7 separate regions of the Homo sapiens genome follow, and regions 2, 3, 4, 5, 6 and 7 are each linked to region 1. Evidence: promoter capture Hi-C in human tissues and cell types (Jung and others, 2019). All regions are on one chromosome and are shown on one strand. Each heading gives the region's core, a stretch centred on a gene start or on the middle of the fragment in contact. The rest is flanking DNA. Distances are from core to core; before and after follow the strand shown.

The links. The method cuts DNA at HindIII sites, captures the fragments that hold promoters and counts their contacts. A contact is called where the count stands out against the background at its distance.
Region 2: a fragment that was not itself captured here is called in contact with the fragment with the promoter of IGFBP3 in region 1 in 1 of the 25 tissues and cell types used here (dorsolateral prefrontal cortex).
Region 3: a fragment that was not itself captured here is called in contact with the fragment with the promoter of IGFBP3 in region 1 in 1 of the 25 tissues and cell types used here (mesenchymal stem cells).
Region 4: a fragment that was not itself captured here is called in contact with the fragment with the promoter of IGFBP3 in region 1 in 1 of the 25 tissues and cell types used here (mesenchymal stem cells).
Region 5: a contact is called between a fragment that was not itself captured here and the fragment with the promoter of IGFBP3 in region 1, in 1 of the 25 tissues and cell types used here (IMR-90 fibroblasts).
Region 6: a contact is called between a fragment that was not itself captured here and the fragment with the promoter of IGFBP3 in region 1, in 1 of the 25 tissues and cell types used here (lymphoblastoid cells).
Region 7: a contact is called between a fragment that was not itself captured here and the fragment with the promoter of IGFBP3 in region 1, in 1 of the 25 tissues and cell types used here (dorsolateral prefrontal cortex).

What each region holds. Positions count from the first base shown.
Region 1 is chr7:45,919,557-45,923,379 of GRCh38, forward strand. IGFBP3 (insulin like growth factor binding protein 3) reads right to left here and starts at 1,716. Exons shown (of 5, transcript NM_000598.5): 1 at 1,182-1,716. The coding sequence starts at 1,584. RefSeq lists enhancers at 1,519-2,099, 2,100-2,680. The HindIII fragment of the contact is 8,943 bases long and covers 1-3,823 here.
Region 2 is chr7:46,917,692-46,921,474 of GRCh38, forward strand. All of the region lies in intron 1 of LOC124901626 (a long non-coding RNA gene), which reads right to left. Among named protein-coding and RNA genes, the nearest start is that of SNORD151, 550 kb to the right of the region's middle. The HindIII fragment of the contact is 3,578 bases long and covers 420-3,783 here.
Region 3 is chr7:46,744,127-46,748,359 of GRCh38, forward strand. No RefSeq gene overlaps it. Among named protein-coding and RNA genes, the nearest start is that of SNORD151, 720 kb to the right of the region's middle. The HindIII fragment of the contact is 4,039 bases long and covers 555-4,233 here.
Region 4 is chr7:46,897,100-46,900,783 of GRCh38, forward strand. All of the region lies in intron 1 of LOC124901626 (a long non-coding RNA gene), which reads right to left. Among named protein-coding and RNA genes, the nearest start is that of SNORD151, 570 kb to the right of the region's middle. The HindIII fragment of the contact is 6,970 bases long and covers 1-3,684 here.
Region 5 is chr7:46,810,471-46,814,217 of GRCh38, forward strand. No RefSeq gene overlaps it. Among named protein-coding and RNA genes, the nearest start is that of SNORD151, 650 kb to the right of the region's middle. The HindIII fragment of the contact is 3,306 bases long and covers 623-3,747 here.
Region 6 is chr7:46,765,785-46,769,974 of GRCh38, forward strand. No RefSeq gene overlaps it. Among named protein-coding and RNA genes, the nearest start is that of SNORD151, 700 kb to the right of the region's middle. The HindIII fragment of the contact is 5,034 bases long and covers 1-4,190 here.
Region 7 is chr7:46,859,096-46,863,110 of GRCh38, forward strand. No RefSeq gene overlaps it. Among named protein-coding and RNA genes, the nearest start is that of SNORD151, 600 kb to the right of the region's middle. The HindIII fragment of the contact is 4,673 bases long and covers 96-4,015 here.

The sequences.
Region 1 (3,823 bases), core at 466-2,965:
CATAAATTATAAAGGGACTGTTCATCCTGCTAGCCCTAGATGGGGGCCTGCCCAGTGACATCTGTCCAACGTGATCGTTGGGGAGTTGGGGGAATTAGGATGGGGAGAATTCTCCCAGCCTTCAGCTGTGCAAGGCAGGAACTTTATTTCTCATATAACTAGGTGAGGCTGGCTAAGAATGCTTGAAAGAACAGCTGCCAAATCCATTTAAACAACCCCCGCTCCTTTTTTTAAGGGAACAATGTGATGCCCTTACCAGAGTCGCTGTCTGCCTGATACTGATAGTGGCTAAGCCAAGAGGGTAACTCTGCCAAATGTTTGCATTTTTCCTCTTCTGGGGCTCCCCTTAACAACATCTCATTCCCCCCCCCATTTCAGATTAAGAAGGGAGACAGCCCTAGGACTGATTCCAATTCCCTTCCGTGTCATTGAAATTGACTTAGTCCACATTGCCCGCACCCACCACGCACCTGGAAGTTTGTTTGAGGTCGGCGCAGGTGCAGGGGTGGCCCGAGTTGTAAGAATGGTATGGTACTGAAAGTGGCACGCGGAGTTCAAACCTACACTCTGTTGTGGCCGCTGGGTAACCTTAAGAAGTTACTTCTTTTTCAGCTTCAGGTTTTCCAACCGCAGAAGATATCAAAACCCGAATCCACTTTACTTGTTTTTGGACATACCGGGACTAGACATTGCTTTGCAAACCAAAAGGCTGTGCAAAGTCAGTATTTTAAAAGAGAGGTACTATTTCCTACAACGTGCCTGCCCACCTTCCTTGGTCCAAATCCGCCTATATCCCCCCCATCCCCAAGCATCCCTGGGATTGCAGTCCGTGTGCACCCCCGTGCGGGGCGAGGAGAATCTCCTGTGTCCAGGATCTTTCCAACAGCTAAACATCGGTACCGCTCCCCTCAGCTCCGGAAACCTTTAACCCATTTTCACTGAAAGCGCTTTGCAATTTACAAGTACTCTGCACTTAGAGAATCGAGCAAGTAGAGGGCCGGCTGGGGAGGGTCCCTCCGGCGACCGCCTTCACCTTTCCCGGAGCGCCTTCAGTTTCCCCACATATTATCTCCAGTGAGAAGAAAAGCGGAGTCTCCCGCAGCGGCACCCAGCAACCCCCAGGCCCTTCGGCGCCAGTGCGCCGGGTGCTGCACGCAGCGCACCTGGCGCGGGCGGCTCACCTGGAGCTGGCGGCGCTGGCAGCAGGTAGGCGCGCAGGCGGCTGACGGCACTAGCGTTGACGCAGAGCCCGCGGCCGTCCAGCAGCGCCTGCAGCGGTCGCGCCTCGTCGGGCGACGGCTGGCAGCGAAGGCCGGAGCCACAGCGCTCGGTGTAGATGCCGCACGGCTGGCCCTCGCTCAGTGCGCACGTCAGGCAGCAGCCGCAGCCCGGCTCGCGCACCAGCTCCGCGCACACGGCGGGCGGAGGCGCGCACTGGGCCAGTGCACGCGCGTCGCACGGCTCGCAGCGCACCACGGGACCCAAGCCCGCCGAGCTCGCGCCAGCCCGCGCCACCGGCGGCCCGCGGAGCAGCACCAGCAGAGTCAGCGCAGCGGCCCAGAGCGTGGGTCGCGCCCGCTGCATGACGCCTGCAACCGGGGCACGCTGCTTGGCAGGCTGGGCGCGCAGGGATGGGGCGACAGTACACGGCGCGAAGCTGTGGAATCCAGGCAGGAAGCGGCTGATCCTCAGCGCCCAGCCGCAGTGCTCGCATCTGGGCGGCCCGGGCGCGCCGGCCGCTATATAGAAGCCGGGGTGGCCCAGGACACGCCCCGGAACGGCGCGCCCAGGAGTGGGGGTTGGGAGGGGGGCGGGTCGGCGCAGGCACGGCTGCGGGGGCCCGTGCTTCGCCCTGAGCAGCCGGGGCCGAGCTCGGGGGCGTGCAGCTCGAGACTCGCCCGGGCACCTGCTCCTCGTGCGCACGCCCGGAGCCCGGGTCACCTTGTCGTCTACAAGAACCAAGGTGTGCCCGGCCACCCCGGCACTCCAGGCCACCTCAGCACCCCCGGTCACCCCAGTCACTCCTGGCCAACTCAGCACCCCCGATCTCCTTGACCCCGCCGCCCTTACCCCTTCCGCTCTCGGGGTGAGGTCTCCCTGCGGCGAGCCGGTGTCGGGGAAACTGGCATACAGCGCTCCGCATTCGTGTGTACCTCGTGGAGCTTTCTAAAATTTAATTCCGTTGGCAGGCGAAGTCTTGGGACATTTCTGACTTACATTTGGGTCTCAGGGAGCCAAGGCACTGCGGGGTTTAATTTACACCCGCTGGGCTGTTTATATCCCCAGGGGCCCACAAATACGCATCTGAAGATGCGCCCGGGGCCTTCGCCCCTTTCCAGGCTTACTTCTCAACGCAAGAAGACTCTCACGTGTTGCTACACCGCAAGTCTCCAATTAAGAGTGGACCGGCAAGCGAATGCGTCCTTAAGGCAGGGCTTTTCAAATATTTTAAATGACAACTGTTCTTCTTGTCTTGGGTATTCTCCCTGATTATGTTTTCAAATGGAGTTTACACCCATGACAAAAGAATAATAAAGACAATAAACTGGGCACTGCTGAAACGTAATTAACCAAATAGTCCTTTAATAGGCAATTTTCATTGTCATTTTTTGAAGGCGACTTCGTATTACTGTATTCTCGATGCGTTGGGATTCTAGCTTATCTCTGCAATCTAAACACTTTTCAGTAAAGTTCGGGGGCGCAATTGCGCGCTGAGGTCGCTGTAACTCCTGTCGGCCTTCTCTGGCACTCGAGTTTCTTCAGTTTTGTCTGCGCACCCCCTCCCTTCGGTGACCAACAGAGGACGCTGGTGGTCCAGGATTGGATTGAGGATTAAATTTTTCAAGGCACTTTTCCAAAGAGTTTGTGGGGGTGGAGTGGGAAGCGGTGAGACCTCCGCGGGAGGAGACTTTCCTGAACGCTGTTGAAATTGGACGCTTGCCTTAGGAGGTGGATAGGTGACTTGAAGGAGCCCTTTGCAGTTTGGAGTAGTAATAGCAAATCAGGAGCTCCTCCATTCCCCTCCAGCACGAAGCCTTGGGTGAAGTTAATCTTCATTCATCATTTCTGTCTCTCCTAATCGATCTCTCGCCCAGTGTCTCTCCTTGTCCCTCTCCCTCCCTTTCTCTCTCTCGTCCTCTCCCCTTTTCCCCCTGTCCACCTCTTCCCCCATATCTATACAGCTTCCTTTTATACATATATACTCTCCTTTTAGAATGGAAAGATCAATTTCGTTCCCTCTTGTACTAAATAAATAAATAATTGGACCTCTACAAATAAAAAGAGACCAAAGACAAGAACAATGGAGTGCCCCGGGGTGACGAAGGCCCAGCACCGTCATTTTCTTATGAGCTCTTCTCCCACAGTGCTCAGGCTGTGGCTACACTCAACCTTGTTTACAGGAAACCGTGCCATAATCGTCGCTTGCTGTTTCCTTTCTCTTGTATCACCTCCTTCTAGTATCTGCGTTGACACCCAAGAACAGGATCTCTGATTTCATTGGAAAATTGAAGGAAACAAAACGAATCCCCCAGGTTTACATCCGTTCCTTAAATACTCGCAGAGACCTTGACTCTGAAATTAGAGCTGGGTTCGGCATCAAATGCAATTCTTGAGGTCCCAGGTCTGCAGTTCTGGTTAGTGCAATGTTGCAGCAGAGCCTGGACTGACCACTGGTTAGTGTAGCACTTTTTATTCAGCTTTATCATCTGGAGAGTGGACAGGGGAAGATCAGAAACAATGTCTTTTTGGAAAGGATTAAAAAATTTGTTTTATTCTTGGTTCTCTTCTTTTTTCCCTCGCATTGCAGTTGGAGAAACTTGTT
Region 2 (3,783 bases), core at 959-3,458, 1.0 Mb after region 1:
AACAAAAACAAGAGAGAAAACCAATGGGGTATGATGAGCATTTCAATAGAAAATTCAATAAGACTACAGCAGAGGGAGACATTAATTGTGCCTAGGGAATCAGAAATTGCTAAAAAAAAAGCTGGTTTTTCAAGATAAATGAAAAATTAGCAAGAAACATGTTACATTTTTATTGTTTCTCTTATACTATTCATTACTAGTAACTCAGTTCTTCCTTAGAGCTCCAATATCCACATATGCAAACAATAACAGCTTTAATGATGCTACCTTTACATACACAGTAGGACCTGTTGCTTTCTTGGGTCACGGGTGCTAGAATATATTTACTGCTCTTAAGTCCGGGTCGCAAACACCGCAATAAGTCCTACTCACAAAGCACTTTCTCCTCCAAGACATAGCAGATCTTGTTAACTCGTGACACAGCTAAAAAGGACAGTACTAAGAGGAAGCATTTGTGGTGTTCTGGGCCTGAGGGAGACAGAGATTGTCACGGCTAACATTTAAGCCCTCCTCTTTTGCCTCCAGGACTGTTGTTCCATCAACTAATGGGACTCCTTGACCCTGCATGTCTCCCAAAGCATCCTTTATACAGAGGTGTTGTCACCTTCTTGTTGTATTGATTTTATATAATCATTTTAAATTTTCTGTAGTTTCAAATGCTTCTCAACAAGTATGCCATATCTATGCAGTAGTAAATGTGTAAGATTTCTAATATATAAATATAGATAAAATCAGAGAGCTAAAAATTTATTGATGGAGAGCCTGAGTTTTAAAAAAATGAAGACCAACCACAGACCCACATCTCTACCTCTCTCTGTTGCATAAAATTCTCAGCAGTCTCACCAGCCCCTTATGCTGCTCCACACAATGAGGACGACCTGAGCTGAGAGAAGAGCAGGCAGAGATGTCTCCCTGTGTACATGGGAGAACGTGTGCGAACCTAGAGAATGATGGCTGAGCAAATCCCTGGCAAGTCTCCTATTACTTGTCCCTGGGGACAGACCCCTGGATTAACATCTAAAATAAAACAGTATTCTGAGCCTTTGCTCTGCTGGTTTTTATTTGGCTTCATATGGGCCATTTAACCTCTCTGAGCTTCTGTTTTTCCCTTCAAGCACCGGAGCAAGAATGCCTGCCTCACATCATAAGGGTGCGTCTGAACAAGTAACGGATAGAAAAACTGAGGCTTCATACCAGCAATTAATGTTATTACCCTGGAATTCCACATTTATAAGTAGTAACAACATAACTTATTTCATGTTGTTTTTTAATCAAGAGTACTTCTGATGGAAGATTTTATTAGAATGTAGAATCATTGGATAAAAAATGATTTTTCACTTATAAAACAGTCTACCCAAGACAGGACTCCTGTCTACAGAATTCCTGGAAGATGATCACCCAACTTTTCTTGATTATGACTAGTAACTAGGAGCTCACAACTTTGAAAGAAAAGGGATTTCTTTTCTTTTCTTTGTGAAATGATACCATATTAAGTAAAAATATCCCCTCTGGTATGCTTTCTTTTTGAGTCTGCATCCTTGGGAAGCTCAAAATATTTCACTCACCTCTAATCACAATCATGATAAGTCTTCATAAAGCCATCTGTGTGCACACCACTGAATTTCCTTTTCATGGGTAAACAGGCCCAGATCTCTCAGGATATTATAGTAGGATACAATTTTCAGACACCTTATGTCTTAGTTTGTTCAAGCTGCTATTTAAAAATACCATAGACTGGCTTATAAACAAGAGAAATTCATTTCTTATAGTTCTCGAGGTTGGAAATCCAAGGCCAGCAGTTTCAGTGTCTGATGAAAGCCTGTTCCTCATAGACGGCACATTCTTCATGTCTTCATATTGCGGACGGAGAGCCATAGAGCTCTCTGGAGTTTCTTTGATAAGGGCACGAATCTCATTCATGAGGGCTCTGCCTGAAGGCCCTTCCACTCAACACCATCACTTTCAGGATTTCAATGTTTGCATTTTGGGGGGACATTGAGACCACAGCATCTCACATGCATCGTCCTCTTGAGGCATCTTATGCATCTATCTGCTTTTCTATTATTTATAAGTGGTGCCTAGAACCAAGTGTAATATGATCTACATGTACTATAACTTGTTTGCTTCTATTTTAATGATGCTGTGTTACACTAATAATGAACCGTGTAGCTAACAGAACACAGTCATACCTAATGTCTCACAAAACACTGAAGAATCCCTTTTTATAGATGTGGAAACAAAACAAAGACCCTTAGAAGTTAAGAGGTTTGTTCACTATCTCACAGATAATCCAGGATTAGTACACAGGTATACCAGCTGTCATTGACTACATTGCTCAGTTAAGGGTAGATTAAATTGACAGGTCACCAATAGCTTGGGTCCACCAACTCTCTCAGCCTTTTTTCCACATTGAATGATGCCAAAAAAGTGTTGTTCTTTATGAAATTGTCTATTTATTTTTAACATTAATACAGTTATATAAAATTTAGAAATATGGAAGGTTTAGTGTAAGAAGCCTTACAGATTATGTTAAACATATAACACATTTATGAATAAGCAACTGGCAAACTAATCAAACATCACATAGTTAATCTATGGGCAAAAATGATATAATTGAGGTCTTCAAAGACATATGAATTGTCTTCATGCCATAGCATTAGCAGACAGGTAGGTAGCCTTTACATTCTTTTTAGAGGGGTTCCTCATCACTGACAATCCTATCAAAAAATCTAGATTTATCTTATTGCATCCCACTTAATAAAACCATTAAACTCAACTTGTCTTTGTATAATCACTGTAAATCCACTTGTGGCGAGAGGATGGACGCTTAGACTGATGGGACATGGGACAAGAAATGAGCACGTCCGTTTATGTAAAAGCCAATGTTTCCATTAACACATGCTTGGTGCAGTCACAAGTGGCAGCTGCTACTGTGGATTTCAGTTGCTATTTCTCTGAGGACCCCATAGAAGACTGTAAAGAGTGCCTGAGGACTGAAAAATGTGCCCACTCTTTTAGCCCTGGGAACAAACTACTCAATATGGCTATTTGGAAACACAGTGTGGCAATTCAGGAATAAGAATCACTAAAATTGATTGTTCTCTTTGGCCTCATTTAACTGATCACAACTCCACATAAGTCAAGAGCTTTTTGCATAATAATTTTCATTACCATATTATGTAACACTGAAAAATTGTTAGTTCTTTCATAAATTATCTGATTTTAAAAAGTAGCACACATTATCAAACAAGAAATTTTGAGAAGTGGTCATGGCTGGTGTCCAGTACAACCTCTTCCACTTTGAAAGTGCTCACTGTTACTGTTTGTGTCTGTTACTTGGTACCTCACAAAATGAGATGGCACAATCTTTTATTACAGTGAGACATTTATAAAATTATTTATGCATTTTTTTCAAAATGTACCTTAATAAATACCAAAATGTTGCTAAATTGTAGTTTATGTTTTTGTCCTTAATGCAATCAAGTAGAAATGAAAATAACTACAAAACATCACCATCAAAAATAAAAACATGGAACTGATTAAAGAAAACTATTAAAAATTCTTGGAATCCAAAAGGACCTCAACTCTGAAATTAAGATTATTTTATAATAAAAACAAGGAAAAAGCTTTATATTAAAACCCATTGGATGTTTCCAATCTTTAACCTTTAAAAAATTTTATGTTAAATAAAAACATTGAGAATAAATAAACTAAGCATTTTTTTTCTGGTAATAAAAAAGCGTTCAATTTAAAAAGTGAGATTGAAAAATAAAATGGAAAAAA
Region 3 (4,233 bases), core at 1,324-3,823, 830 kb after region 1:
GAATGTGAAAATCTAGGACATTACTGCACACTACTGTAGACTTTGCAAACACTGTACACTTAAGCTGCACTGCATTTCATGAAAAATAAAGTAATTTTGCTACAGTGTTACAACAGCTATAACATCACTAAGCAATAGGAATTTTTCAGCTCCATTCTAATCTTATTGGACCACTGTCACATAAGCAGTTTGTCATTGACAGAAATGTCTTTATACAGCATGTGACTGAACCTATATTTTGCTCTTTCCATTGTTCCATGTTCCTTCCTGATGCTTTTAGTTCCCGTCTTTCATCTTTTTTTTTTTCTGTTGGAAGAACATCCTTTAGGCAATCTTTAAGAATAAGTCTGCCATTGACAGATTCCCATATTTTCTCTACATCTGAGATTGTTTTTATTTCTCTTTCTTTCCTGAAAAATACTTATATTGGGTATAGAAACACAGTTCACAGCTCTTTTCTTTCAGCCTTTAAAGGGTATTGTGCCATGTCCCTCTCTTTTCCTTGGTTCTAATGAGAAATCTGATGTCATTTTAATTGGCGTTCCGTTGTAGGTAACATGTCGATCCTCTCTGGCTTCTTTTAATTTTTTTTATTTGTTTTAGAACTTCAATTATGATATGTCTTAGTATCTATTCATGGGGCTTTTTTTCAGTGCCTTGAATTTTTAAGTGTGTATCTTTTGCAAAATTTGTCAAGTCTTCGGCCATTAATTATTCCATTCTATATCATTTTTTTCAGTCTGTTTCTATCTGTTGTTCAGATTGGGTGAATTCTAATTTTCTGTACTCAATTTCACATATTTTATCTCTTTCATTTGCACTCTACTATTGAATCCATCCAGCAATTTTTTTTTCTGTTATCGTATTTATCAGTTTTATAATTTGATCCTGTTCTTTTTTATGAATCTATTTCCTTGCTGAAATTATCTGTATTACATTTGCCTGTAATAGACTGTCATAGAATGTTTGACAGCTGTTTTAAAAACCCTTGTCAGGTAGTTCCCACACCTGATTCTGTTGATGTTGGCATTCCTCAAACCCATAATCTCAGCGTTACTGAGGGTTGTTCAGAATAATATTTACTGCTAAAAATAGCACCTAAAGTCAGTAAACAGAAGACGATTGCATGCTTAGCTGAGAGATAGTATAAAACTAGAGGTTATATGTTGAAAAATTGTCTTCTTAAAATTGAAAGTGGTTTTAAAAAGTCAAAACCTGATGGATAAACTGAATAATCTACAGGGAAAAAAAACTCACCTCGACAAGGAATATAAAGAAATACTTTACGATTATTCTGTTGAGTAAAAGAAAAGAATGGGTTATAGTCAGAGGTTGACAGAGAGTGTGGCCTTAAATGAATTGTGGTGATAAATTTTCAGTGAATTTCCTAGTGAGTCACCAGATACGGAATAATTGCTGCATATATGAGGCAGAGGATTGAATAGTAAATAAAATCCATGTAGGATTTAACAGCTTGCAAGGGAGGGTATGGAACAGGCTGACACTCACAACTATTTCTAAAGGAAAATGGAAAGAAAATTCACAAGAAATTGGAAAATGGAGGTGGAGCTCACAGCTTTTTTTGTTACACCTTTTCAGTGGGAAGCGTGGTCTGGCAAGCATGATATAAAACATCATGTATAACTGGTCATCAAAACTTTGGGAAACATAATCTACAAACAGGAAAGAGAATCAGCCTTAAGTCCAGAGAGAACAACAGAATAAGAAAGAGGCAGGATGTGTCCAGTCTAAGGCAGCAGAGCCCTGATCCTACAGCACCTCTGGCTGCCAGAATGTGGTACAAGCTGACTCTGGATTGGACCTTGCACGTGCTACTGTACCAGACCACCTTTGCAGTTCCCTTTAGTTTCCTCCCATCTGAATTTCCTCAGTGGCAACGTTAATAATTTTATCTTGAAAGTTAGTCCAAAACAGCATGTGCCCAGTTTGTCCTAAGTGAGGAATAAGCATTTTGAGGGATGTTCTCCTTATTCCAGCACATTTTCCCAAGTTTCCTCAATGTTCTCCCTTTAGTTTTAACAGACATTTTCTGACCGGATTTATGCTAAACAAGGACAATAAACACCAACAATAACTTTTCCAGCTTCCCAACATTTCACAGCAGAGCTGCAGTAAAGGCAGAGGACATGGAGAGAAGCCCCATATGGCCAAGTCCTGCAGGAGCAGCAGCTCCTCCTGCCCATATGTTCTGGAGCCCACCCATCCAGGGGCAAAGCTGCATGCAGACTCCTTCCCCATCCGATTTTTCAGCGGGGACTGGCTCTGACCTTCAGACAGACACGTCCAAACACCTGCCGATTGCCCTCTGGGTGGCCACCAGATACCTACAGCTCCGCACTGAAAAGTTCCAAAATGGAAACATCATCTCCCCCAAACCCGCCCCCTCTGTTCTGTGTTTTCTTAGATTCTGTATGTATATTTGCCATCCATTCCTCACAAGGCCCAACTCTCAGCCAAAGTGTCCACTTCTCTCCTTTTAAGTCCAATGCCTTGTATTCACTTCTCACATGCAGATCTGCTGATTCAAGTCTGAGCCCCCACCTTCTTCCCTAACTCGCACAGCAAGCCAACATTGCCCCTACCCTAAATCATCCCAGGGCCAAGTACCAGGCAACCAGAGACCACCCTACGCTGTGTACCCATCCCTGCCTTTACTTCTCCACAGAAGCCTCAATACAGGCTCTGGCTGGGCCCTTCCTTCTGTCTCCTAGCCTCCCTGAGCTTTCTGCATGGCCCTGCGTGATGTGGTGTGCCCCCTCCTCCTGGGAAATAGAAGCAATAAATTTTCTTTCAGTGGCACTGACCTCTATGTGTAGTCACTCAGTCATTTCCAGAAACTAAAATCCTTTGGCCACAAAGGAGATGCTCTCCTTTTGCCATCACAGAATGAGATTGAGGATAGGGCATATCTGAATTCGGGGATGTAGTCTCAGCCTTAACTCTCACTACTTTGTGGTGGTGTTTAAGGATGTCTACCACTCAGCTTATCAAGAAAGCAGTGATATGTGAGGAGGCGCACTAGACTAGGTGCAAAATATATAGGAAGTGTCGCTCCCCCAGGCAGATGTGTCAGAGCACACGAGCCTCCCTCTACTGCATGCTGTACCCTCCTTCCTCCCTCTAGACACCAGTGAGGGTAAAAATCACCTGGCCTGCAAAATTCTTTGACAACTGGCACTTGTCGAGTATGTGCTGTGAACTACACACAGAGGTGAGTGGAATCGATGTGTGTGTGTTTGTGGTGGTGCATATACTTCCTGTGACTCTCTGGAGGGTCAGTGTTTACAGATGCGCTCACCCCTGCAGGGCCAGGTCAGGGTCTGTGCTATCTCTGCTGTTTTCACAACTCCGTTCTGGCTCCCCAGGAAAACCACAATAAAAATCGGTCTTGGTTGGGTGCAGTGACTCACACCTGTAATCCCAGCAGTTTGTGAGGCCAAGGCAGGCAGATCACTTGAGGTCAGGAGTTCAAGACCAGCCTGCCAACATGGTGAAACCCTATCTCTAATAAAAATACAAAAATTAGTCGAGTGTGGTGGCACGAACCTGTAATACCAGCTACTCAGGAGGCTGAGGCAGGAGAATCGCTTGAACCTGGGAGGCGTAGATTGCAGTGAGCTGAGATCGCGCCACTGCCCTCCAGCCTGAGTGACAAGAGTGGGATTCTGTCACACACACACACACACACACACACACACACACACACACACACACCAGTCTTAGCGGAGGATTCTCTGTCCAAGAGAAAGGACAGAAAAGCAATGTGTTCACACTTGGCCTGTGGAGAAACCTCTTATTCACACCAGGACCTACGTTACCTCAGTGAGTATCTAGACACTTTAAAAGCTGGAAATGTTGGGGCTTGCCAAAGTTCCTTTTCTATGTAAGTTTTTGTTTTGCTTTTTTCCTGGTTAGGTCAAGGTCAAGGTGATTTACTGTTAGCATCTGTGGCTTTCTGGAATCCCACCCTTCCCAATCACACATCATTTTAAAGAAATGGTTCCCGAAAGGTCTGAACCACATTGTTAACCCACATACCCAGTGAAAAACAAAACAATTCTAAGAAGATTTAAATTAAACCAGTAACCCATCCTCTTCTTATCTTTTTCTTGTAAATATTGCTTGATTCTTCCTGAATTCCCGAAGTGGAGTTTATTACAAAGAGCATTCATTTAGACGAGAAGTACTTGTATACAATTTTGTATGGTTTCC
Region 4 (3,684 bases), core at 600-3,099, 980 kb after region 1:
AGATGCTGCTCTCGGTGCCCTGGTGCTTCCTGTTCCTTGACCCGATTCTTCCCAGTTCAATGGGAAAATGAACAAGAGAATCTAGAGAGAGCCAAGACTAATACTCCATTCTCTTAACCTGTATTCATGTCTATCTTAATATTTTTTCTATCTTGCTTAGTTAAAAAGAGAGAGAGACAGAGAGAGCACTCACCCCTAGCCCAGAGTCATATGTGGGGTGCTTTGTCTGAGAGTTTGAGGAAAGGCCAATGCCACCAGCTCCCTGTCTTTTGGAATGGGATCTCTGGGGTGCATTAGCACTTCAGGCGAGACCCAGGCTTCCTGAGCTGCTCTCTTTACCATGGGCCCAGCTCTGGCTGAAAGCCTTCTGAGAGCTTGTTAGACTGCAGGAAGGCGAGAATCCTTCAGCAAGCCAGTGAGATCACTGCTGCACCCACCTGGGTCTAGGCTGGAGGTCTCTACATGAGGGCTGTCATGGAAAGGCTCGATCCCAAGACACTGAGGTCACCCTGGTAAGCAGATGTGGAGAAGGGAGCCAGGCCCGGGAGGAGGAAGACTGACTTAATGGAAATGTTTAAGTTTTTCTTTGTAAGAAAAATAAAAAGCCAATCCACAAATTTACATTACATTATAATGGCCTATAAACTGGGCAGAATATATAATTATAATGAGGAATTTCAGAAAACAATGCTGCTTCTGAATATTTTAATAATATAAAATAATAATTTGGGGTTATGTTTTTGTTTTTGTTTTGTTTTGTTTTCTGGCCAGACACAGTATCTCACACCTGTATTTTCAGCATTTTGGGAGGCTGAGGCAAGAGGAACCCTTGAGGACAGAAATTTGATACTAGTCTGGGCAACACAGGGAGATCCTATCTCTATAAAATAAAATAAATACTTAAAAAATATATTTTTTTAAATTAGCAGAAAACTAAGGAACTCAATGGGCTTTCATGTCAGGGATCAGCTAAATGATTTTTATAATTTACAGAATTATGAGATGCACTTTTAAGTAATGCAAAATGATTATAAATTATATTTCTTCTGATGTGTTTACTCCTACTTTTACATTTTAGGTTAATAATCTACCTTAGCTATTTTGGAAATAGATAGGGAATAAATATTAACCTAGTAAAACAAGATAAATTATGTATTTAATTAACTTTCCACATTCTATTAATAACCTTTAAAAGTTTATATATCACATACACTGGATTTGAATGCTAAATAATAATTGTTTAGACTATTTAAGTCTAAAATTCAAAATCTTGGGGTGAGAGGGGGCTTAAAATTTGTAAAGTGAAAAACTGATATTTGAGGATTGAATTACCATGTGGTAGTCCAGGTTATTCTTGAACATCTCCACTGACAGGAAATGGTGTCTCTAATAATAGCTTATTGCATCTTTAGACTGTTTAACTGTGCTGAAATCCTTCCTTACATTGGCTGTTTCCAAGCAAGTTCCCACTAATTAATTGATAGGTCTTTATTTTGTTGATGTATATACTGACTCAGTTTATGTTTCCCGTGACAGGCTGCAGGATGCCTGGAAAAGTTTTCATCTATTATGTTGAGTCTTATGAAATTACCAATTTTTAGGTCAAAATGGCTGAATATCATCAATTTCATATGCTTCAACCCATGACTCCCTGGGCCTTCTCTTCTGCAGGTAAGACTCCCCAAGTCCTTCGACTCTTCCTCCATGGCAGGCCTTCACCATCCTTTTCAGGCTGGAGGCCACTCTGTGGAATCTTGGACAATTATTTACTGTGAAAAGATCCATTACATGGATATGAATACTAAACTAACTTCTGTGGCCTACACATTTGGAAAAAATCCAGAGGAAAAATTGGAAAAATATGAGAAGTGTAAGATGCTTAACAACAAGTTATACTGCTGTTTATTGAGGACTTATAATAATCTTTTAGATGTGATACCCCCTTTTTACAGCTAAGAAAACAAATTCCCCAGTAGGCTAAGTAGCTTGCTCCAGATAACATAACTATAAACTCTAGCATCCAGATTTGACTCGGATATTCTGGCCCCACATTCTATGCATGCCCTTTCCCCTAATAATGACTCCACGAGGCCAGATGTGGGTTGAACACTGGAAAATGTCAAGCTGCAAGAAGATTACCCTGACTAACTCCCCCAGTTCTCCCAGGTATGTGTGCATTGGCTTCAACTTCCCTCAGTTAACAATTCCATACAAGCCCTTCCAATTTGACGCAGGAAGACAAAACTTAGAAAAACTTTAGAAAGATCCATCATTTATTGTCTCAGTGCCAACACTTATTGGACTCACCTACCCTTTGATATCTAAAAGTAATTAATATTTTATTCAAGTCACAATGTAAGTGCGAGGGTCCAAAAGACTGAAAAGGTGGGACCTTGTGGGCCTGTTGTCTTCAAGTCAAAGGTAATAAAATGGATATTTTTGTTTAAATTATGTTGCAAAATCTTTATGTCACTTTCACTACCTGCAACAGCGTTCTCATTTCTAACTCCTCCGAATTCCCTGTTTTTATTCTCCAGGACTGTATGTGCTTTCATCTCCATCTCTTTCCTCCTCCCCCCAAAGATGCCCACATCCCACTCTGTAGAATGTATGAATTACCACAGTGCATGGCAAGATGGGCTTTGCAGATGTGAGTTAAGTTATGGCCCTTAAAATTGAGAGACTATCCTGGATTTTCTGGGTATGCCTAACCTAATCCATGAGCCCTCACAAAGAACTGTCTCCAGCTATCTGGGAAAAGAAGAGATGGCAGAATTACGGCAGAAGGAAAAAATAATTGAAATGTGAGGACTTCACCATCATTGCTGGCTTTGAACCTGGAGGAGGAAGGCCACAAACCAAAGAACACAGGTGGCACCTGGATGCTAAAGATCACCTCCAGCTGACAGCTAGCAAGGAAACAGAGACGCAATCCTACAACCACAAGGAACTGACTTCTGCTAACCTGCAGGAACTTGGAGGCAGAATCATCCCGAGACCCCAGAAAGAAACAGTGTCCTTCTGACACCTGGATTTTAGCCTGGAAGCCCAGATGAGCCATGCTCCTCCCAGACTTCTGATTTACAGGACAGTGAGTTGCATGTTGTTTTAAGCAGCTCCGTTTGCAAATATTTGTTATGGCAGCAAAAGGAAACAAATACAGTCTTTGATATATTTGCTAAGCCTCTATTTCTAAATGTCCTCAGTTTTTGTTTTCTGTATGTGTCTGTGGATCTCTGTACAGAATTGTGATTTTGTCAGCTTCATAGCATTCATTGCTCCAGCCAGCCATTGGCAGAGGCAATGGGATGAGACACAGTGATCAAGAGCACGGGCTTCAGAGACAGTGTCACCCCAGTGCCCATCTCCAGAGCTCCATTTATGAGAAGACCAGGTGACTAGAACTAGAATCACATGATGGGACTATGGATCTGAGTGAGCGGAACATGCAGATAGGAACAAGAGCTGGCCTAGGGCCATAGTACGAAACAGGAAGTGTCTGCAAGTGCAGAACCCAACTTCTATATCCCATTTGCTGTTTTATGTACATTTTGGACCAGATCTTCCTGTGCTGGGGGCAGAGTGCAACTTAGTGGCAACAGTGTAGTGAAAGTCTGTGGATTCCAAACCTTTCTGCAGAACTCAGACATATGATGCTGAAGCCTCTGGCTGCTCTCTTATCCT
Region 5 (3,747 bases), core at 1,026-3,525, 890 kb after region 1:
GCATCTAGGAGTGAGGCCTGTAACTCCCGAAGCCACAGTGGGCATGTTACAGTACCCTCTTAGCTCTGCTGTCCGCAGACAGCTTAAGCGTGAACCAGCTCTGTGTCCTCTTGGTACCCAGATCCTTGTCAGGCGTTCAGGAAGAATCAGGTAACATACAGGCTTGAAGGTTGGTGACTGCAGGGGTTTTACTGAGTGGTGGAGGTGGCGCTCAGTGGGATGGATAGGGAGCTGAAGAGAAGATGGAGTAGGAAGATGATCATGTCCTGAAGTTCGACTGTCCTGTGGTCAACCTCCTCTCCAACCATCTCCAGCCAAACTCCTGTCGATATTCATACGCTCCTTCTTTTCTCTCCTTCTCTGTTGTGCCATTCTGTGGCTCTGTCACTCTACTGCTCCTCTGCTTTTCTGCTTGTGGAGCCTGGGGTTTAGGATTTATATGGTTACAGGATGGGGGAGTGTGGTGGGCCAAAAGGCAAAAATTGGGCATGAAAACAGAAACGCCTCTTCCCATACAGGGCAGCGGGTTTCCAGGCTTAAGGGTGGGGCCTTTGCCAGGGAACTGCCTTCGTCTACCCAGTATCTCCCTGCCTCCTGTTCATATCACTGCCTTTTTGGAAGGTTCAGAACTGATCAGATAAGAGACAGCCCTTCATTCATCATATAAGTGTACAGCCACAGAAAACCAAGAACATGTGCTAAATTTCCCAAGAACATGTAATCCTCCTTTCCTCTAGCAATTGGCTAGAGGAAGAGTAAGACACAGAGTGAGAGTTAGAGTGTGAGACTCCATGTGGCCCTGAAATCAAGGTTGCCAGGAAGGAAGCTGCCTAGTGCCTCCTCTCATCGTGCTGTTTGGCCACGGTGACCTCAGGTACAATGTCCCCTCTGTTCAGACAAGTCAGGTTTACTGGGCTGTGGGCTCAAAAGGGCTTCTCACCCTAGAGATGGCCAAACATCCCTATTAAGCGTGGCCAGTAAGAGGCTCTCCCTCCCCATGCCCACCTTGCTCTTTTATCTGTCTGAGGAGAGAGGAGGTTGAGGGTACCCCTCCCACTGCTCTTCACCCTCACTTCTTGCTTCAAGACAGCTGGGAAGAATGCTAAGTTAATAAAAATGTCTATTCAAAAAACCCACTGAAAGGGTGTGAGCAATTAAGCCTATTCATGACAGTGTGAGGCCAACAGACAAGCCAGTTGGCCTTGAGCTCAGGCTTGCTAATAATAGCATCATCCAGCGCATCTCAGAGCTGTGGGGGACTGCAGGATGACATCACCCAGATGGAAGCCGGAGGGATGGGCAAACCACAAGGTCCCAAGGGCTGATGATCACTGCAAGGAGCTGGAGAAAATCCATGTGTATGAGGGGCTGAGCAGCCCTGTGTACCATTCAGTTTTTTCCTCTATTATGGAGAGGTGGTGATATTGTGGGAAGGTCTGGAATCGGGGCTGCATTCGATTTCACCCTAATTAAAAGTCATGAGGCAACTGTTAACTGCAGCTTACTCACAGTAAAAGATCTACAGAACAATTACTGGTGTGGTACCTTGGAAACCCCCCTCCAATGAGATCCACATTCAGGCACCAAGAGGGGAGCAGCGGAGGCATTCTAGGAAAAGCAGATCTGTCTGGTCGGGTTGCACCTTCTGTGGAGGAGTGGGCATAATGGGTACTCTTAGAGAGTTTTCAGTGTTTTCAGGTTCCCAAAATTGGCTGCTGGTAACAAGCAGTGAGCATCTCTCTATAACCTGTCCTCACACAGGCACACAGCACATGCGCCTTTGTAAGGACGGGAGAGGGAGGTGTCACTTCTGAGAAACATCTGTTGGTCTGCTCACATAATACAAGCCTTTGTGAAGTTAATTAGGGAATCATGAGAGTATTGACACTACATTAGGTCAGAAAAAAAAATCAGATACTAGGAAATCGCTTAAATCTCTTCTTAAGCTGAAAATATCGTTAAGAAATGTTTCCGCTTAGACCAAGTCAGAGATAACCCTCCAACACTCCTCACTCCCTGCCAGAAACTGACTTCACTTTTATAACATAGACAGGCTGATGATGAATGCCTCTCGTATTCAGCTTTGACCAAGCTTAGAGCAAAATAATTTAAATTGTTAAAGTTTGAAAGCATTTATTTTGTTTTGGATTCAAAAGCAAAATTTGTTGTCTTATATGTGAAGAACAACTCTGAGTGTGGCACATCAGCCCACAACAAATGCTAATTACTTTTATAATTGTTACTACTACTACTAAGGCTACTACCCTGGGCACGGAAACAGACAATAATGTTACCTATATATTATATAATATAGATATATATATGACTGTTAAGAATATTTTTTTAAAAGATAAAGGAAGACTTTTAGTTAGGCTGGGTCTGTCTAGGACTCACACACACACACAGTTTCAGAAGAGGAAGCCTTTCCATTCTTTCCAGCAGCCTATTCTCATGATCCTGTAAAAGACAAGGGAATGGGAGGGTCAGGATCACTCAGATTCAATAATCAGCATATGTTCAAAGAGAAACATTTCTGATGAAAGCAGAAGCTTCAAGGAACATTCTGGAACTGAATGGGTCCTTAGCTTCCAGGGCTGTGATGCAGATGGTCTCGGTGATCCTGGAGGCCCTGGACTTATGGTCCCCTTGCAGACCATGCAGAGGAAGATAGCACATCCAAAGCTTATGAACCAGTTTTCCTTGTTGACACTGGCTCTGAGGCTTGATCTGGGCTCGACAGAAGCTCAGGCAAGACATCCAGAGAGATAGTCGTTGTTCAAGAAACCAGCAGAGCCCAGGAAGAGTAAACGTAAAAGCAACTTGATAGAAACAAGAGGAAAACCATACAATAGCTAAACAAAACCTAGAACATAACTACAGTTAGTTTTTAAGTTGGAAGTTGAGAACCCCAGGAAAAAGTCTTGCATAAAAGAAAGGAAAAGGTAAAACCAGCATTCTGAGGGTGGTGGAGAAGCTTCCTCAGTTTTTCTCGGAAACTTGAGCAAAGCACTGATAGTAAGTGCATAAGCGTAAACCCTTAACTGTTGTGTGCCGTTTTCTTCTCTTAGCTTCCCACCAGCCTGGCTACCAAGACATCCTATTATAACTTGAAAATTGAGATATGTTTAAAATTAAATAATATTTGTTAGAACTCTGATGTTTCCCTTGGTGTCCTGATTTTTCCCCTGGTAAGACTAGCATGGGATTTAATAATCCTCAGGAAGAAATGTCAACAAAACCATTTTCCACCACGCCTCAACTAATGAACACACTTTCTGACTACCCACGAATGAACTGGAGTATTCCAAACATGGAATAATTTTAAAGTGATCATTTCTTAATCTAATTAAAAGTTTGATTTATTAGTTTTTGTTAGTTTTTTTTTCCTGATTTTTACTCCTGAACACAGGATCTTAATTATGCTTAAATTAGGCTCCCATTTAATATGGTCTGTCTTTCCTGAGCATAAACTAAGGCATGTCAGACAAGGGAGTTCCCAAAGCCTGCAAGCATGATGTTTGATTAGTATAACGTTACTTGTATCAAATAGATCCCAAAATGTCTAACTTTTTGACTAAAATATCAGACGATTTATAAATGAGTTATTCTTGTTTCTTGGACACAGAAAGTCCGAGGTGTACGTTGTAGGTGTACAGGTGTTTCCCTGCATACCCGTGATTCAGGGATTGAGTTGTTATTCATCTTGTGATTCCATGACTGGCTGAGGCAACTTTTTGATCTGCATAC
Region 6 (4,190 bases), core at 822-3,321, 850 kb after region 1:
CAGCTCTCATGAGACTTATTCACTATCACAAGGACAGCACGGGAAAAACTCACCACCATGATTCAATTACCTCCCACCAGGTCCTTCCCACAACACATGGGGATTACTACAATTCGAAATTTTGTTGGGGACACACAGCCAAAACATATCACCTGCTGAGCACCCCCTTAGGCACTGTTGACCTGCCAGAGGGCAAGGCAGTTTCTGAGAAGGTACAACTCAAATGTATCCTGATTCCACGATCTTTTTTTTCATCTAAATGTCCCAAAGCTGTGGCTGGAAGAAAGTTGAGTCTGTTAAGCTTGATCCTAGGGGGACAGTGGCAGCAGCATGTTGCTAAGAGACAGAAATTTCCAGACTCAAAGGAAAGGGGCAGACAAGACCATTACTTGACTAGAAGAAGATAGTAACCATTTAAAGGATTCAAACTGCCAAAGAAATCCAAGTCTTGGCTTGTGTACTTCTAAGGTGAGCACCCTCACAGCATCTCCTCAGCTCAATTTGCAGCAATAAGATTTACATTATTAAAGTAGAATCGGGAAGGACGTCCGGTACCTTAGCTGCAATTCAGTGGGTGAGGTGAGCCTTCCCAGGGCAGATTCGAGCTGCATGGTCCTCAGGGCAGTGGAGATTCTTAGAATGAACAGTACCAGGAGGCTGGATTTGCTGAACAAGGTGTCCACTCTGTACCTAGGCAGGGGAACTGGCAACAACTGGTCGTCAGAGTGTGTTTTTCATATTGCTTCATGTAAGAGTGACTTTTTGCTACTGCGATCTCCCCTTTCAATACCACTACATGTTGGGTTTTGCAGGGTGAGTTTTGTGGTGATAGGAGGAACATGACAGAGCAGAAGCTGCATGAGCCAGATATTCTGGACTTGGTTTTGAATGCAGTATTGGATGAGGCTTTGGGTTTCTCTGTTTGGCAGAGAACTCAGTATGTTTTTTGTGGAGATGGGCATTTTACATGTGAAATGAAGAGAAGGAGCATGAATCTGTGAACGATGGGTCTCCCAATATGAGTTGTGGGCTGTTGTATGAATTAGGGTTGTCCTTACACTGAGCATGCCGTGAAGTCTAGGCCTTCATGCTAGGGAGTTCTGCCTCCTCGAACAGTCCCAGCCATGCAACTCTATGCAGACTGCCTCTATGAGGCCTGTGCATGGCAAGCTGGAGCCACTCTGCGTGGATGTCCCCCTGAGGTGGGGGTTATGCAGGAAAGAACATATTGATAAGATCTGGCAATAAGGGACAGCTTCTGAACACTCTGGGAAATATTTTCTGACTCTGAACAGAAAAATAAAAAACAGCTTCTCTGAAAGTGGCATTACACAGATGTGGGCTCTAATGCTGCCATCGTTATTTTCTCCCAGCCTAAGAACAGAGTCAGCAAAGAGAATCCCAACCAGAGGCACTCCTGAAGCAGAAGGGCAGCTGTGAGACTCTGCTCCTGACCTTGGGGTGCTGGCTTGTGGGAAACCATAAAGCTCATCACCCTTAGACCACTTTGATTTGGATTTCCTGTTCCTTGCAGCTGAAATTTCCTAAAAGTTCAAACTCACAAGCCTCCAGTTATTTAATATGGTGTTTACCCAGCAAGGTTTTGGCTCTCTGAAGATCATTTTGTTCATGTATTTATATTCTTCACATTGTCAAACAATATAGTAAAGACAATAAATGGCAATTGTATTTGATTACTAGATCAAATGGGTAATGTTCATTAAACAGTATAAATACATTGATAAAACAATACAACTTAGTGAAACAATATTAATAAATATTAATATTATGATGAACTCATGTGTCTATCACAGCAGGGGTCATTCATTTGTTTTTCTGTCCATGATCATCCCTCTCCTAACACTAAGGTTTAACCCAGAAACTGCTCAATGATCACATGGGTTTGGATGGATGAGCCGCACTGACATGAGAATGCTATGGATTTCACAATAGATGTGTACCCAGGTACTGCTATGATTTCAAATTATAGTGAGGCTCAGACAGGTTCCACAGATGCTTCCACATCAGACAAACCACAGAAGGTGGAATTAAAATACAAGTCATGTGATCTCAGAGCAGACCCTGCAGCTGAGTGGAAGCCATCCTGATGTCCTCATATCAACACAGACCAACTGAGGCTCTCAGAAGGGCTTGGAATAATGTCCCTTTCTTTTAAAGCTAGTTTCACTGCCCTCTTATGACTTGCTCTTGAATAAAACGTGACTACAACACTAGAGAAAAGCCTCTGAAACCTTTATAGGAAGAAAGTTTAGAAAGTACAAGTGAGGAGACTGATACGAGTAACAATAAAACTCTGGTCTTGTGCACAACCAGCTCTGTGTGAATTATTATTTCTCTATTGCAATTTTCCTGTTTCTATAAATTGGCTCTGTCTAAGCAGCAGACAAGGTGAACCCACTGGGTGGTTACAAATTTGGGGAGCTCATCCAAGATTGCCCTTGTGGCTGCCTGCCCGTGCTTTGGTAGCTTCCCTCCAGTAGTGGATTCAGAGGCCAGCCCAAGAGGCTGCTTAGTTTTCTTGGACTGGGGGCTGACTCTGGTACTGTATCTACTGATGGGGTGCTGCTCACCCTGTGCATGGATTTAATTCCAATAGAGAAATTGTTCTGGGGAGATGTCCCATAATTGTAGCCCTATCCCAGGGTGTCTGTCTGTAGCCCAGTCATGAAATGTCTGTAGCTGTAGCCCTATCATGGGATGTCTGTTTCAGTGAGTATCGTAGGCATTGCCAATGCCTCCTTCCTTCTCCTGATTGATTCTGTAGCACCATGGTGGAGTGTCTGTCTGTAGCCTCATTGCAGAGTGTCTGTCTTGGTTCAGCTCCTTCAGGGGTCTCAGTTGGCCCTCCCTAATTAGTAGGAAGAGTCTTGGTTCAGAAGACTTCTCCTCAATCAGGAAGATTTTGGGGAGATTTCTTAGGAGGACAATAGGAGGAGAGTTTGGAAGGGATACTCTGGGAATTCTTGGTTAGGGATCTTAATATGGAAAGCCTTCTGTATCAGTCCGTTTTCACACTGCTGTAAAGAACTGCCCAAAACTGGATAATTTATAAAGGAAAGAGGTTTAATTGACTCACAATTCTGCGGGGCTGGGGAGGTCTCAGGAAACTTATAATCATGGCAGGAGGGGAAACAAACATGTCTTTCTTCACATGGCAGCTGGAAGAAGAAGTGCTGAGCAAAGCAGGGAAAGCCCCTTATAAAACCATCAGATTTCATGAGAACTCTCTCACTATCAAAAGAGCATGCTGTAATTACCCCCATGATTCAATTATGTCCCACTGGGTCCCTCCCACAACATGTGGGGATTATGGGAACTATAATTCTAGGTGAGATTTGGGTGGGGACACCACTAACCAATATCACCTTCTGTCCATCTTGTCTTTGTGTGTGTGTTTCTATATGTGGAAGGGATCTCTGAAGGAATTTGTCAGGCCTCTGGGCCCAAGCTAAGCCATCATATCATCTGTGACCTGCACGTATACATACAGATGGCCTGAAGCAACTGAAGAACCACAAAAGAAGCGAAAATAGCCAGTTCCTGCCTTAACTGATGACATTCCACCATTGTGATAATTTGTTCCTGCCCCACCCTAACTGATCAATTGACCTCGTGACATTCCTTCTCCTGGACAATGAATCTCAGGAGCTCCCCACCGAGCACCTTGTGACCCCTGCCCCTGCCCACAAGAGAACAACCCACTTTAACTGTAATTTTCCACTACTTACCCAAATCCTATAAAACTGTCCCACCCCTATCTCCCTTTGCCGACTCCTTTTTTGGACTCAGCCTGCCTGCACCCAGGTGATTAAAAATCTTCATTGCTCACACAAAGTCTGTTTGGTGGTCTCTTCACATGGACTTGCATAACAGAATCATTGATGGAAGTCCAGGAGGCCTAACTCAGAGAACCTTCCTTATTTATAAGGTCACATTCAGTGATCCCTGAAAGAAGTTTCCCAGGCTTGATTCAGGATGACCACTCTTTATCTTGCCCAGAGACCACCCATTGAATTCCTGGTTGAAGGTCACCCCCTCCCAATCTTGAATGGATCAAAGACAACAGGAACCAGTGGGAAAAAGTTTGAGCCTTGCCAGGTCGATATTGGGTGTTAAATGAGGTGACTAGTGTCTTTTGTTATGTGTATTTTTGCTTCTGCTGGGATGGA
Region 7 (4,015 bases), core at 1,182-3,681, 940 kb after region 1:
AATAATTAGTAGAGTGATAAGGCAATCTATAGAATGGTGGAAAATATTTGTAAGCCACATGTCTAATAAGGAATTAATATCAACAATATGTAAGGAAACTCCTGCAATTCAACAGGAAAGCAACAACAGCAACAAAAGACCAAACAGCCCATAAAAGAGTGAGACTTGAATAAATGGGACCCAATTAAGAAAGAACGTGACTAGATATCTCTCCAAAAATATATACAAATGGCTCTCAGGTATATGAAAAGACTGCTTTCCCAAGCACTGCCTCCTAAATTCTGGACTCTTGGGGAAATAGATTTAAGCTTTCTAGAACACTTTTCTATCACTGGCTGATCTTTGGCCCCTTTCAGTTCCTTCCGTTTTCTAGAAAATATCTGCATTGGGACTATTTCCTCCACTATAGCCCCACATGTTAAAATACATTGCTATTTTTGTGGGCCCAGGAACAACTGTAGAGTAAGTAAATCTGACATTTCAAAACCAGCTGACATTAAAGCTTCTCCGAATTCCAACTCTGAAAATCTTCTGAAGAATTTAAAATTTTTTTTTTCAAATTTTATATTTTTTATTTCAATAGGTTTTTGGGGAACAGGTGGTGTTTGATCACATGAATAAGTTCTTTAGTGGTGATTTCTGAGATTTTGTTGCACCCATCACCTAAGCAGTGCACACTGTACCCAATGTGTAGTTTTTATCCATCACCACCCCCGACCCTTACTCCCAGATTTTGGGGAAATGCAAAAATTTGTTACTAGATGTTTTCCTTTCAGAAACAAAAAGTGAAGACAACTCCTTGGTTTGAAATTTCCTTCCGAAAGGATATAACTGGGCAGCTTAAAATGAAGCAACCTTCATCTTTTGATGCATGGAAAGATGTGACCCAGCTCATTACTCATGGATATGAAATCTAATTGAAAGAGGCATACTGTCTGCTGGAATCACTTGGCAGCTGTTAATGGCTTGATTCAGGCAGCTCATCCTCTGGGAAGCATGTCTCCTTGCCAGGAAACCTGAGCTCACTTCCTTTTCCCTGCCAGTCACCCACCCACAGCCATCGCTGTCACAGGCCCCTTCCTTCCCACTCTAGCTGCCCACCTGCTCCTTTCCCAGCTCCTCTCTCATCAAAGCTATCTTTGTTCGTCTGTCTCAGCACTGGGCATCCCCTTTAATGGCATCACTCTCTGTCCAAACCAGATAACATGTGTCCTTATTTCTCATGTCATTTCCGGGCCCTTGGCAGGCCAACTTTCCCTGACTCACACGTGCTGGCCCCTCCTTCCCATCGCCTGAGCTTTCCTTTCCCTCCCTCTCTCCTGACCCTACATTTCCCCCTCTTGTCCTGCACTGCCCTGCCCTCCCATCCGTCCCTTCACTCCCTTCCCTCATGAAAGGCTCCACTTCTTTTGTAATTCTGTTAATTATCCAATGTCTTGCCTCTCTCCCCATTCTCTTACCTTTCCGTAAACCCACCTCTGACCCATTTCCACTGGCCACAACTGCTCTTTGCTTCCTCTTCTTGATTCCATTTCAACTTTCCACTTTTCCTTCTATCTGAAGTTGACAAATGGGTTCATAGTGCTCTGAATTTTAACACAGCCTTGTCCTTTGATCACCCTGGCTAAGCCTCAAACCCCCAGGCGGAGGTGCTACCACCATCTCCATTCTGCAGTGAAGGCTTCTGCACTTTCTAGAGTTTGTGAACTCCAGTGGTGGAGGCAGCGGGCCCAGCACCCTGCGGAGGAGCTGAGATCCTATCTGCCCCCTGCCTGCTCTGAAGTCTTTCTTCACAGCCGGCCTCTTGATGGGAGGGTTAGGTGGCAGGGATCTCATTCTCCAGCCCCACCGCTATTAGATCTCCGCCAGCAAATACAATTTCTCATTCACCCCATTCCTCCCTCCTCCACCTCACCCTCCCTCTATGTCTTCCTTTTCTTCCCTTCATTTCTCGACAAGAGAAAAAATGCATAAAATATGCCTTTCTTCTTATTGTTTTCCTCAAGCTGCATGTTTGGGGTCTCAAAATCATGTTGTGTGGTGGGGAACTGTTCTATGCATTATAAGATGTTTAGCACTATCCCTGGTTTCTTCCATTAGAAGCCAGTAGCCGCCTCCTTGTGCACCTCCCCAACTGTGGCAGCCACAAATGTCTCCGCATTGCCACGTGCTCCCATGATGTGAGAACCACTGTCCTAAAGCAGCACGTGAGTTGTGAGTGGTCCCATTCTTCAGCAGGAATTAGATAACAGGTTCCTGAGGATTCTTTGTGGAGCAATTCCAGGAGGAAGTAAGTCAGCAAAGAAGCATGGGAAAAGCCTGGCTGAATACGAGCCATGGGTCTGGCCCAGCCTGCCATTACTGCCTAACGGGCACACCTGGATGTGATGTTTGCTGCCCAACCTCTGGCTCCTCCTCTGTAAGATGCTCATTGTTTTCATCCCACTAGTCCTCTTTTTGCTGAGAACAGTGCCCAGAGTGTGCTTTCACAGGGACCCAGGGAAGGGAGCATGTTGAGCGGGGAGGGAATTAAAGCCAATGAGGACTGCGGATGGGGACAGCCAACACCAATGAGAGAGCTACAGAGCTGGACGATGCAGGACTAGATGGAAGCCGAGGAGAGGCTAGAGGGAGGCCCTCTGAGAATGGCGGGGTGAGCATATTTATGCTTAAAGGGGAGGAGGCCGGTGAGAGTTAAGAGGAGGAGGGTGGTTCAGACAGATGGGCCAGGAAGGACTGGAAAAGCATAGCTCTCAGGACCGCCTGGGTGGGGAAAGGATGTCCTTCATTTCTGGGATTTAGGAGGGAAGGGAAGAAGAAAGGAGAAAGAAATGTGTGAGTACAAGAGGTGTAGGAATTTGAGGGAATTGGTCACTGACAAACCTCGGTTTTTTTATATGAGCCGAGAAGCCCAGCCCCCTTCCATGTGTTAAGGGGAGAAGGTGAGTTTTGGGGGCTTGAAGTGCACTTTGGATCCGCCCCTGAGAAAGATGAGAGAGACCAAAGAACAGGAAGGTTTTATACCAAGGGTCAGAAAGGGGCTCTGGCTGGTTCTGGTCCAGGTCTCCAAAGCTGTTAATCCTTTCCCCGCAGGGGCCCGACTCAGACGGCCCCATGCAGTTTATGTCTCAAATGTAGTTTCCTACTACAGAAAAGATGGTATGGAAACACCAAGTCACTCTGTGTTCTTTCAGCTCTGCAGAACTGAAATAGAAAGACAGTTCAGTACCAGAGGCACAGTCTGTGGGCTTTGTTTTTGTTTTAGTAATTTTGTTTTTTAAAACCATTGGAATTACTAAATGTTGGTTGATGTTGGGACTATTTGAACTGAAGGGTTTAGGATGGAAAGATGAGATTTTCCTGCACATATCTGGTTCTACTTTTTAAAAATTTAATCAAATGTAGACAGTTATAGTGAAGACAGGTAGAAGGAGCTAGACCCCTCTAAACAGAGACCCTGCCATTTTTGCTCATAGCTCAACATATGTCTTTGCAAACTGAGTGGCACTTCCCTGACCCCCAGGTGCACCATAGGAACAATTATCACAGTGAAAATTAGTGGGATTGCATCTAAACCCTGTGAGTGACATGCAATATAGTATAATACATGTGTACATGCACACCCTGGGGGTGTAGTCGCCAGACACACAGAGCCACCCACACAGTCACATGTGCATGGCCAGTCCCCCTCCCACAACAGATCTGTCTCCCAACACCCACACACCACATGGTCCCCCAACGCCGACATAAGTGATGGCATCACACTCACGTGTAGTCACATCCACATCCAATATGTATACATGTGTTCACTCCCATATATGTGCATAGGTCCCACCCTCTGTAGGGCAAGGACATGCTCACCATCACCATCTCTCAGGCACAAACTCTAAATTCTGCACCCCACTCCATCTCACACTGTTTCTCTGTTTCTCTCTCCCATTGTCTATTCTTCTAGTATTTTCTTGTGTGTTCTCGGGCACTGCTTCTAGACACACATAGGGGCACTGCCCATCCT